Linked DNA regions of Homo sapiens: all the other regions are linked to region 2. Evidence: promoter capture Hi-C in human tissues and cell types (Jung and others, 2019). All regions are on one chromosome and are shown on one strand. The core of a region is centred on a gene start or on the middle of the fragment in contact, and the rest is flanking DNA. Distances in the headings are between cores, read along the strand shown.

Evidence for each region. Contacts are between HindIII fragments. The study calls those that stand out against the background at their distance.
Region 1: a fragment that was not itself captured here is called in contact with the fragment with the promoter of RGMA in region 2 in 1 of the 25 tissues and cell types used here (lymphoblastoid cells).
Region 3: a fragment that was not itself captured here is called in contact with the fragment with the promoter of RGMA in region 2 in 1 of the 25 tissues and cell types used here (lymphoblastoid cells).

The regions. Positions count from the first base shown.
Region 1 is chr15:94,184,395-94,188,236 of GRCh38, reverse strand. No RefSeq gene overlaps it. Among named protein-coding and RNA genes, the nearest start is that of MCTP2, 45 kb to the left of the region's middle. The HindIII fragment of the contact is 4,058 bases long and covers 8-3,842 here.
Region 2 is chr15:93,087,585-93,091,179 of GRCh38, reverse strand. It overlaps RGMA (repulsive guidance molecule BMP co-receptor a), which reads left to right and starts at 1,969. Exons shown (of 4, transcript NM_020211.3): 1 at 1,969-2,261. The coding sequence starts at 2,248. It overlaps LOC101927025 (a long non-coding RNA gene), which reads right to left and starts at 1,966. Exons shown (of 5, transcript XR_007064769.1): 1 at 1,903-1,966. The HindIII fragment of the contact is 13,871 bases long and covers 1-3,595 here.
Region 3 is chr15:94,319,715-94,323,176 of GRCh38, reverse strand. The region is part of intron 4 of MCTP2 (multiple C2 and transmembrane domain containing 2); the gene reads right to left. Among named protein-coding and RNA genes, the nearest start is that of MCTP2, 90 kb to the right of the region's middle. The HindIII fragment of the contact is 4,413 bases long and covers 1-3,462 here.

The DNA of each region.
Region 1 (3,842 bases), core at 787-3,286, 1.1 Mb before region 2:
TTTTCTTTTTTTGATGTGTCTCTGGTTTTGGTATCAGGGTAATACTGGCCTCATAGAATAAGTTTGGAAGTATTCCCTTCTCCCCTATTTTTCCAAAAAGTTTGAGTAGGATTGGTATTTGTTCTTTAAATGTCTGTTAGAATTCAGCATGGAAGTCATCAGGTCCCAGGTTTTTCTTTACTGGGAGACTTTTTATTATGGCTCCAATCTCAGTACTCATTATTGATTTGTTCAGGTTTTAGATTTCTTCATGGTTTAATTTTGGTAGTTTGTATGTTTCTGGGAATTTTTAAATTTCTTCTAGGTTTTCCAATTTATTGGCATGTAGTTCTTCACAGTAGCCATTAATAATCCTTTTAATTTCTGTAGTATCTGTTGTAATGTCTTCTTTTTCATTTCTGATTTTATTGATTTAGACCTCCTCTCTTTATTTCTTAGTTAGTCTGGCTAAAGATTTGTCCACTGTGTTTAACTTTTCAAAAACATTTTTTTGTTTTATTGATTTTTTATATTTTTTAATTTCAATTTTATTTATTTCTGATCTGATACTTATTGCTTCTTTTCTTTCCCTAATTTTGAATTTACTTTGTTCTTGCTTTTCTAGTTTTGTTTGTTTGTTTGTTTGTTTTTACTTTAAGTTCTGGGATACATGTGTAGACTGTGCAGGTTTATTACCTAGATATGCATGTGCCATGGTGGTTTGCTGCACCTATCAACCCATCATCTAGGTTTTAAGCCCCACATGCATTAGGTATTTGTCCCAATGCTCTTTCTCCCTTTGACCCCCATCCTCTGACAGGCCCTGGTGAGTGGTGTTCCCCTCCCTGTGTCCATATACTTTGCCTACTTTTTGATGGGGTTGTTTTTTTCTTGTAAATTTAAATTCCTTGTAGATTCTGGATATTAGACCTTTGTCAGATGGGTAGATTGCAAACATGTTCAGTGCCCTATCCTGCTGTGACTGAGCTGGTATCCTAGATGCAAGACAAAGTCCTCCCCAGGAGGTCTCTTTTGGAGCCATGAACTGTGTAGTCTGGGACTAGGGGAGGGATGATGACAGCACTCCCTTAGCTGCCCCAGGCAGCATCTCAGTAGGTCACATGCTCCGCCTCCACAGTCCACTGTCTCTGGGCCTATTTCAGCCCTAGGGCTTGCCTAAGAGTTTCAGTCCTTATGGCCTAGACTGCCTTTCAAGTTTGCTTGGAGACACAAAATGCTGTAGCCCTTAGTGGCTAGGTTTGCAGGCACTCAAGTTCGAACCACTAGGGGATTCCCTTCTGGCTATGAGTGTGGTAAATGCTTCTCCATGGGCGAGCATCAGCTGAGTTTGGTCTGGTTTTTCTTTCTGCTCTAACAGGACAACACTGAGTTCAATTCCTCACAATTTCTGTTAGGAAGCAGGCCACACCACAGGAGGTGAGCTGCGGGCAAGAGAGTGAAGCTTCATCTCTATTTACAACTGTTCCTCATTGCTTGCATTACCACCTGAGCTTTGCCTCCTATCAGATCAGCGGTGGCATTAGTTTCTCATAGGAGCACAAACCCTATCGTAAACAGTGTGTGTGAGGGATCTAGACTGTGTGCTCCTTATGATAATCTAATCCCTGATGATCTGAGGTAGAGCTGAGGTGGTAATGCTAGTGCTGGGGAGCAGCTGCAAATAATAAATGCACAGAGACCATAATAAATCAACTGCTTGCAGATTCATATCAAAACCCTATCAGCAAGTGGCAAGTGACAATTAAGCTGCTTCCAGTGGCAGGCTTTATAGCAGCAAGTGAGTTAACGTACTTCCATTGTATGGCTACGTCTGGTGGCAGGCCTTAAATCAGAATCCAGCACTTATTTTAGTCCATATGTGGTCCGTAGAATATTTACCACTTTCGTCTGTGCCTCTTTTCCTCACTGCACACTTACCTCAGTTACAGTTTTGGTAACCCCACAAGCTAACCCTAGGCAAAATGAGTAAAAAGCAAATATCACCAGAGAGCTTCTTTGAAAAGGGGGAAAGATCTAATGGTGAGACTCTGAGACCGCCAACAAAAAGAAAGCTGCGTTTAAAACAAAATACCAAGAGTCCTATTTAGAGTACAGGTTCATTGCAACAGGTGATTCACATTCTTCAAGAACGCTTTGTATAATATGTGGTAACTAGCCATCCGACAAAGCCATAAAACCTGCAAAACTGCTTCACCACATGGAGACTAAGCACCCTGCATTAAAAGACAAGCCTTTGGAGTTTTTTTTTTTTTTTTTTTTAAATGTGAACAGGAAGAACAGATGCAATTATTGAAGGCCACCACTTCATCAAATGTGTCTGCATTGAGAGCAACATTCTTAGTGGCTAATCTCATTGCTAACGCTAAGAAGCCCTTTACTATTGGTGAAGAGTTGATCCTGCCTGCTGCTAAGGACATTCGTCATGAAATTTTAGGAGAGGCTGTAGTTCAAAAGGGGACACGTGTTCCTCTTTTGGCTGGCACTGTAACTAGATAAAGTAATGAAATAGCAGAGGATATTGAGACACAATTGTTAGAGAGAATTAATGAATCACCATGATACACAATCCAGGTTGACAGGTCTACCGATGTTGACAAAAAGGCAAAAATGATTGTTTTTGTGTTATACATTTTCAGGTGGATGTGCATGAGGATATGTTATGCGCACTTTTGTTGCAGACAAACACCTGCAGAACTATTCAAGTCTTTGAATGATTACATATCAGGAAAACTGAATTGATCATTTTGTATCAGTACATGCATGGATGGAGTGGCTGCCATGACTGGACAGCTTTCTGGTTTCACTACTTGGGTCAGAGAGGTCACTTCTGAATGTGAATCTATGCACTGTGTCAGCCATACAGAAATGCTGGCTAGCTGAAAAATGTCACCTGAACTTAAAAATGTTTTGCAGGATGTGATTAAAATTATCAACCACATTAAAGTACATGCCCTTAACTCACATATGTTCACACAACTCTGTGAGGAGATGGACGCAGAGCACACACAGGTCTTATGCACAGACGTGAGATGGCTTTCTAAAGGTAGATCACTGGCCAGTTTTTGAATTATGAAAGCCACTCCAGAGATTTCTTTCAGAAAAACAGTTACCACTGGCAGCACGTTTCAGCGACACAGAATAAGTCTCAAAACTTGCTTCCTTGGGTGATATATTATTCAACATGCTACACAAACTCAATCTGTCACTTCAGGGGAGAATGACAACTGTGTTCATTTCAGTAGATAAAGTGGCTGCATTCAAAGTCAAACTGGAATTATGGGCAATGAGTGAACACTGGGATTTCTGACATGTTTTAAACACTTGCCCAGATTTTGAAAGTGATGGAGGCAGGGCCTTCTTACACCAGGTGGTGCATGATCACCTAGCTCAGCTTTCAAAGGAGTTTGAGCATTGCTTCCCACCACAAAAGACCCCCAAACTGGGAAGGAATGGATCCGTGACCCATCTGTGAATAAGCCAGGCGAACTGATGGTGTCCATGCTAGAAGAGGATCAACTGTTTGACACTGCAAATGACGATAGCCTTAAAAGTATGCTTGAGACTACAAATCTCCATACGTTCTGGATTAAAGTCAAAGTGAAATATCCAGAGATTGCCACAAAAGCACTGAAAAGCCTGCTTCCATTTCCAGCATCCTGTCTTTGTGAAGCAGGGTTTTCTGTAGTGACAGCAACCAAAACAAGATTACTGAGTAGACTGGACATAAGCAAAACACTTCAGATGTCACTGTCTTCGATCATACCCAGAGGAGATCATCTAGTTGCAGGAAGACAAGCTCAGGACTCCCACTGGTTCTGTTATGGTTACATAACAATTATTTC
Region 2 (3,595 bases), core at 720-3,219:
TGCCTATGCAGGGTTCTAACTTAACCAAGTACTTAACGAGTAGCATTAATATTCGTTGTCTTCTCCACGGGTGCCTGCACTCATCAAGGTAAATAGTTACCGGCTACCTCCACGGCCCTTGATTGAGCTGAGAATTGTCTGTCCTTATCTAGACAGTGGATTGTTTGTCCCCCACCATGGGAAAACCCTGCTGGTTACTTTCCAAAGGCCTCATTTTAAAAAGACACGTTTCCACTTACAGACCTTTTAAAAATGCCAGGCAATTTGGAAGAACAGTAAGAAATCTACTATCTGCGTGACAGTCATTCAGAGATTCTTGTAGTGTGCCAGGCACCATATTAAGTGCTAGGAATGCAATGATGACTCCAAGGAGTCCTGGTTCCTGCCCTCATGATGCTTATGGTACGGTGGGAGAGGCCAACATGTAGGGAAAGGTCACTCTAATGAGCGCCTAATTACCGAGTGAGCTCAGTGTTAGGAAGGAAAGGCACGGATGTGAGGACTCCCTAGAGGGTGGGGAAGATGTTGGAGCTGAGCTATGAAAGATGAAGAAATTGGTTATTCACTGAATGTCAGGGCACAGAATGTCAGGGCAGGAAGACCACACACACACACACACACACACACACACACACACACACACACACCCTACTATTCATAGATGAGGAAACTGAGGCCCAGCAGAGCTAGATGACTTGCCGAAGGTCAGAGCTAATTCTAGAAACCCATCCCCAATCCCTTCCTGCTAAACCACTTAATTTTATTTATATCCCAGCTATAGATTATACAAATACACTTGACAAATAAAACGGAGAATATTGAGTTAAAACCACATCTCTGAAGACCACACGCATAAATAACGATCGTGTTTTAATGCGGACGATACCTTTTCATTTTGCAAATCCAGAGTTCTCATCATATCAAAATTCAAGACAGTTTGTTCTGTAAGAAGGGGAAGGTCATAACCCTGTCTAGAATGTACTGGCAAATCTCTCTAACCGTGCAGTGCTAATTTGGGCCTGAGCTGTGTAACCAGACCGACTTCACGCTCCAGCTGGGGTTTCAGATCCACACATGGCGATTGGGTGGCTCTTTGCTGTTTCACAGCAAGGGTCCTTCCCTGGGCTCCCGGAGCCTCTGGGGATTTACTGCTCCCGACGTGGCCGTGTTCAAGCCACTGTGTGCATGCGCTTAATGTTGAAAACATTCTTTTGAAAAGCCCAGGAGATTCCACTCGCAATCTGTGCGTGTGCATGTAAAAGCGCAGAGACTGGAAAGAACCGCGGCAGAGCACACCCTGACCGAAGGTTACCGCGGGGGAGCCGCGGCCGTGGGAGAGCCGCGGCCGTGGGAGGGAGTGCGATACGGTCTTTTCACTCTAGACACTCCTGAGTTATGTACAATTCTACGCAAGAATGTATGCGTGTGTTAGCATGTAATACATATGTATTAGTTTTTTCAGGAAGATTCTTAAACAACAACAAAATCTCTATAGAACAAAGGTGCGTCTCCGCAGAGCGCAACAGCATTTGTCTTGGATGTAACCGCCTTCTCCAGAAATCTCAGAGGAACTCCCCTCGACCACCGCCTAACTGAAGGACACCGTGCGCTCCACCGCAACCCTGCGGGCGATTCGGAAAGTTGGAGGCGCCCCGGGGAGTCGCCGCACTTGCCGCCCGCGCCCCCTAACCTGAGCATTCAAGGAGTCTTGACTTGGCCGCTGGCGCACTCCGCACCCACCCAGCCGGTGCTGATGCGGGAGGGTGGGGCCGCGGCGGGGCGGGGCAACGCGAGCCCGCACCCCGCTCCTCCCCGCCCCTCCCTGCCGGCCCCGCCCGCGCGCGCCCCCCGCCCGCGGCCCGGGCGCCCGGCCCGCCCCCTCCCCTCGGCGCGCAAACGAACCTCGCGACGCCGCGCTCGGCGGCGGGCGGGGGCCGGGCGAGGGAGGGGGCTGGTCCCGGCCGCCCCACTCTGCAGTTGTCTCCCGAGCGCTGGCTGCGCCGCCCGAGCCGCTGGGCCGGGGAAGCACTGGCCGTTCGCTCCCGGGCCGGCTCCGCCAGGCGCTCGCAGGCATGCAGCCCGGGAGCAGGAGGCGCTCCCCGGGCCGCTGCTGAGCCGGCCGGGGCGGCGGGGACCAGCGCCAGCGGAGCCCCTCCCACCTTGCCCCGGGGCAGACGAGCGGCGCCCCGACACCCCCTCTTCTCCCGCAGCCCCGCCAGCGCCACCCCCCGCGGGCCGCAGGGGCTCATGCAGCCGCCAAGGTAAGCGCGGGTCGGGAGCCGGGCAGACCCGGCTCTGACATCTCCGAGGCGCCGCCGACACATGCCGGGGCCACGGCGCTGCTTTGGTCTTCCTTAGCCCCGCGTCTCATCTTGCTCCCATCTTGCCCACATTTGGAGCTTTGCTGCGCCTCTATCGCTTTAGCTGTTGGCAGCAGGAAAGTTTTTGTGGTTTGGTGTTTGTTCTTTTTTCCTAAAATACTCTCCCCCGGGCAGCCGCCAGCGCGCGTGGTTGGGCAGACCCGGCACACGTCCCTTACACCGTGTGCGGGCTGGGAGCTCCTTCCCTCAGCCCGGCTCGCGGAGCCCCGGACGGAGCCGGCCACCCGACTGTCCCGCCGTGAACCCCCATTGGCCCGCGCCGCCCGGGCCCCCGCCTCCCGCTCGACGCCCGGCTGCGGAGCTGCCTGGCCATCTCCTGCCCTCGGGGATGTCGGCGCAGTGCACCGCGTGGGCTCGCGTCCCGGCGGCCCTTTGCCTCGGCGCGCCGGCGTACGGGAAGGTGCGGACCTTGGATTGAGGGCCGAGGATGCCCATTGCCAAGCCGCCCCGGCTTTCCTAAGTGGACGGGAGGGCACGGCGACGATTCAGCGCCGGCTCGCGCCGCAGCTCAACCCAGGGTACAAGCCCGGGCATGGGGGACAGGTGTATTCAATGGGAGGGCGGGTGTGGGGGACGCTCGGGTGCAATTCGGGATTGCGTCTTATTAATGTAATTGTATTAGACTTGCTCGGAGGTAGAATCAGTTCTCCCAAATTGAGATTTCTAATGGGAGCCTGTGAGCTGCTATTATGTGGTGTGGTTTTGGGAGGTGTTGGGTTGTATTTATTTTATAAATTGGGTGTCTCGCGGGCGGAGTAGGGGAAGTAGCGCCATCTAGCGGAAGTGGTGAGCTGTGCATTCCTCTTAGGCTGCGAAGTTGTTGGGTGTTCTCAAAGTAGTCTCCCGCACAAGGTGGAGAGGCGGGAACCAGCCCTCGCCTCCAGGAAGGAGGCTACAGAAGCTCTCTGAGTATCGACGGTACCAGGGAGAACCCCGACCTCCCATGCTCAGCACATTGAGCTCAGGGGACGAAATTGCGGGTCGTGTTGAGTGGCATGCTGTCACCTAAAGGAGCTCCATCACCTTCTCTGTTTGGTTTTAGACTCTTCCAGCAAAAACGTAATATAAAATGTTAACTGCTGTAAGAAGATGCCCCTTCCGCAGGTATCTGGTGCAGAGATCTTGAAAACCAATGCACAAACCTCTGTCTTCTCCTGTGCATCACAAACGGGTGATTTCTTGGGTGGATTTTGAGCCATGACCCCTAGAAAAGA
Region 3 (3,462 bases), core at 612-3,111, 1.2 Mb before region 2:
CAATTAACAATGGTGTAGTTCAGCAATCTTCACCAAAACTCCCAGAAAAATCTCCAAATCCCACCTTGATAACCTGCTTAACATACCAGCTCTGTGTTTGAACCAGGGAAGGGAGTGATTTAGATAAAACCTCACAGCTCTTTATGCCAGTGAAGCCTATTTCCCAGCCTCTCGCTGACGGCATCACAGCAGAGACAGGGAACTCTGGTATCTGAGACCTTTTCTGCATGTGTTTCCTCGTGGGCAAAGTCACCAAAAACTTCCTATGCTCAATCACATACCCTCTAAGCACTTTCTAACATCCTTTCTTGGGGTTTGTGAGCTGTCTTTTCCTAAGGGAGACACCATATTCTTCCACTCCACTGCTGAGTTAAATAGCAAGAAAATGACTTTTTATTACCCAACATCTCCGGATTTTTCTGCATGATTTCATGTCGTATTTCCAAGATGCTTCCGCTGAAAGCATTAGCCTCAACTCTTGATGACTGCCTAATGAGATTATACCATCTTTGTTGTAGATGTTTTTAAAGCAGTTTTTCAAAGCAAGAATCCAAAAATCAGACCATGATATTCTAGGCAGAGGTCAACAAACTTTGGCCCATCAGTTAAATCCAGACCACTGCCTGTTTTTGTAAATAAATTTATATTGGAAAACAGCTATGTTCATTTGTTTATTGTCTATGGCTGCTTTCTCACTATGTCAAGAGTTAATTTTCACTTATAGCCCATAAAGCCATAAAAAGTCTACTAATCCATGTTCTAGACAGAAAGTAACAGACAGTAATGATTATGTAACAATCCGAAGAAAATGCAGAACTCCTTCCTTAGCAGAGAGTGATTCATCAAAATAGCTTTTCTCCCTAAAAAAAAAAAAATTCAAAAACAGGGGCTGTGCAATTGGAATTAAAGGCCCTAAAGCTGCTGCTCCTCCATGGTCAAGGTTGCAACACATTTGAATAACTCTGAAGGAGCCTCTGTCATAATAAAAAATATGTGATTAATTAGATCCGTGTTTTTTACTTAAAATTAAATACATGATTCCACATAGGAAAATAAAATACAGGTGACTCTTGAAAACATGCATTTGAACAACTGCAAGGGTTCACTTATACAGAATTTTTGTCCTCCTCTGCATCTCCTGAGACAGCAAGACCAAACCCTGGTCTTTCACCTCCTCCTCAGCCAATTGGATGTGAAGACAATGAGGGTGCAGGCTTTTATGATGATCCACTTTCACCTAACGAATAATAAATCTACTTTCTCTCTTTTATGATTTTCTTAACACTTCTTCTCTAGCTTACCTTATTATAAGAATACAGTATATAATACATATACAAAATATATGCCAACGGGCTGTTTATGTTATCAGTAAGGCTTCTGGTCAACAGTAGGCCACTAGTAGTTGTGTTTTGGGGAATTCAAAAGTTATATGTGGGTTTCTGACTGCATGAGGGGTTGGCACCCCTAACCTCCTGCATTGTTTATTGATTAGCTGTATTTTAAAAACCCTATGCTAAAGACAGATCATAGAGAGAGCACAGAGAAATTGGCAAACTGACACAAGTTAGGGACCAAGCATCTAATTCAATGACGGGGGAGCTGACATGGAACACAGCAATGAGTTCTGTACTGGGAGTCAAGAACATGGCCAACTTGCATTATGATTATTCATTAATTACTATAACAACATATCTATTGCCTATTTTCTAAATGTAGGCCACTATGGCATCTATACATCTTTATTAATAATAATAGTACATATTTATGGGGTACACGTAATATTTTGATACATGCATACAATGTGTAATGATCAAATCAGCCTAATTGAAATATGCATCACCTCAAACACATCATTTGTGTTGGGAATATTCCAAATCTTCTCTTCTATTTTGAAATATACAATAAATTATTATTAAGTATAGTCACCCTACTGAGCCATTGAACACTGTAACTTATTCTTTCTACTGTATTTTTGTACCCCTTAACCAACCCTTCTTCATTTTCCCCATTCCCACCCTTCCCAGCCTCTGGTAGTAAGCATTCTCCTCTCTGTCTCCACGGATCAACTTTCTAGCTCACACGTGAGTCAGAATATGGGATATTTGTCTTTTTGTGCCTGACTTATTTTACTTAACATTTTGTCCCCCAGCCTCATCCATATTGTTTTACTTTTTTCAGTCCTTACAATCACATTATGAGGCAAGGTACATCACACCCATTTTAGAGAGGTTATGTAAGTTGTACAAGGAGGTCACAAAGCCAAGTAGTAGACCAAATCCAAATCCTCTTCTTGTCCCACTGAGCCACCCAGTCTGCTCTGAATCTTGCCTCCCAACGTGACCCTCAATAAGTCATTCAATTTTTGTGCTTCCATTTCCTGAATTAAAGCTTCCATTAAATCAGCAGCTGGACCAGGTGACCTATATGAAAGTCATCTTCATCTCTGAAATCATATAAATCCTTTTTGCTGACTTTCATCACCAAGCCCCAGAAGAACACCAGTGTAGTGCCCATTTCACTGAGGAAACCCAAGACATGCTTGTTGAATAAGGGAGTAAGTGACTAAATACTGTTCATTCTGAAAAGGTACTTTCCCTTGTATAACAGGCCTCAATGCTCCTTAAGTCCAGCACTGAAGTTGGATTTCTTCAACGAAGAACTAAAATTTATTAAAAATATTCTGTGTATAAACCATCAGTTATAGCACAGGAGGGCATACAAAGATTAATAAACTAGGGCCAGGCGCAGTGGCTCACAGCTGTAATCCCAGCACTTTGGGAGGCCGAGGCGGGTGGATCACAAGGTCAGGAGATCGAGACCATCCTGGCTAACACGGTGAAACCCTGTCTCTACTAAAAATACAAAAATTAGCTGGGCGTGGTGGCGGGTGCCTGTAGTCCCAACTACTTGGGAGGCTGAGACAGGAGAATGGCGTGAACCCAGGAGGTGGAGCTTGCAGTGAGCCGAGTCTGTGCCACCGCACTCCAGCCTGGGCGACAGAGCGAGACTCCATCTCAAAAAAAAAAAAAAAAAAAGATTAATAAACTATTCTCCCTCCTAATACAGCACTAAGATTGTAATAGAGCAGATCAGTCATTTCCCCAATTAAGGATAAAGGTATATGTTTTATAAAGGTAAAATCTTATAAGATTGAGGTGAGACAGAGCTTATGCCTGTGAAAAACATAAAAGACTGCATAGGACAAATGCCATCTGAGTCTGTATTGAAAGATACTTCCTATTGCAACAATAAGCTATTGGTTTAGTATCTACAGAATTGGAGAACACGTTATAAAGACTAAATATTGTAAATGCATAGATAAGCCAAAAACATGTTATAGTTAGTACTTTAGCATATCACACAGTTTCTTAAACCTGTTTTAATTGGGTTAATACTAAATTAAATTATATTCCAATACAAATTAAGTAAAGCTGAGACCAATGACAGACAGCAAACAGGTAA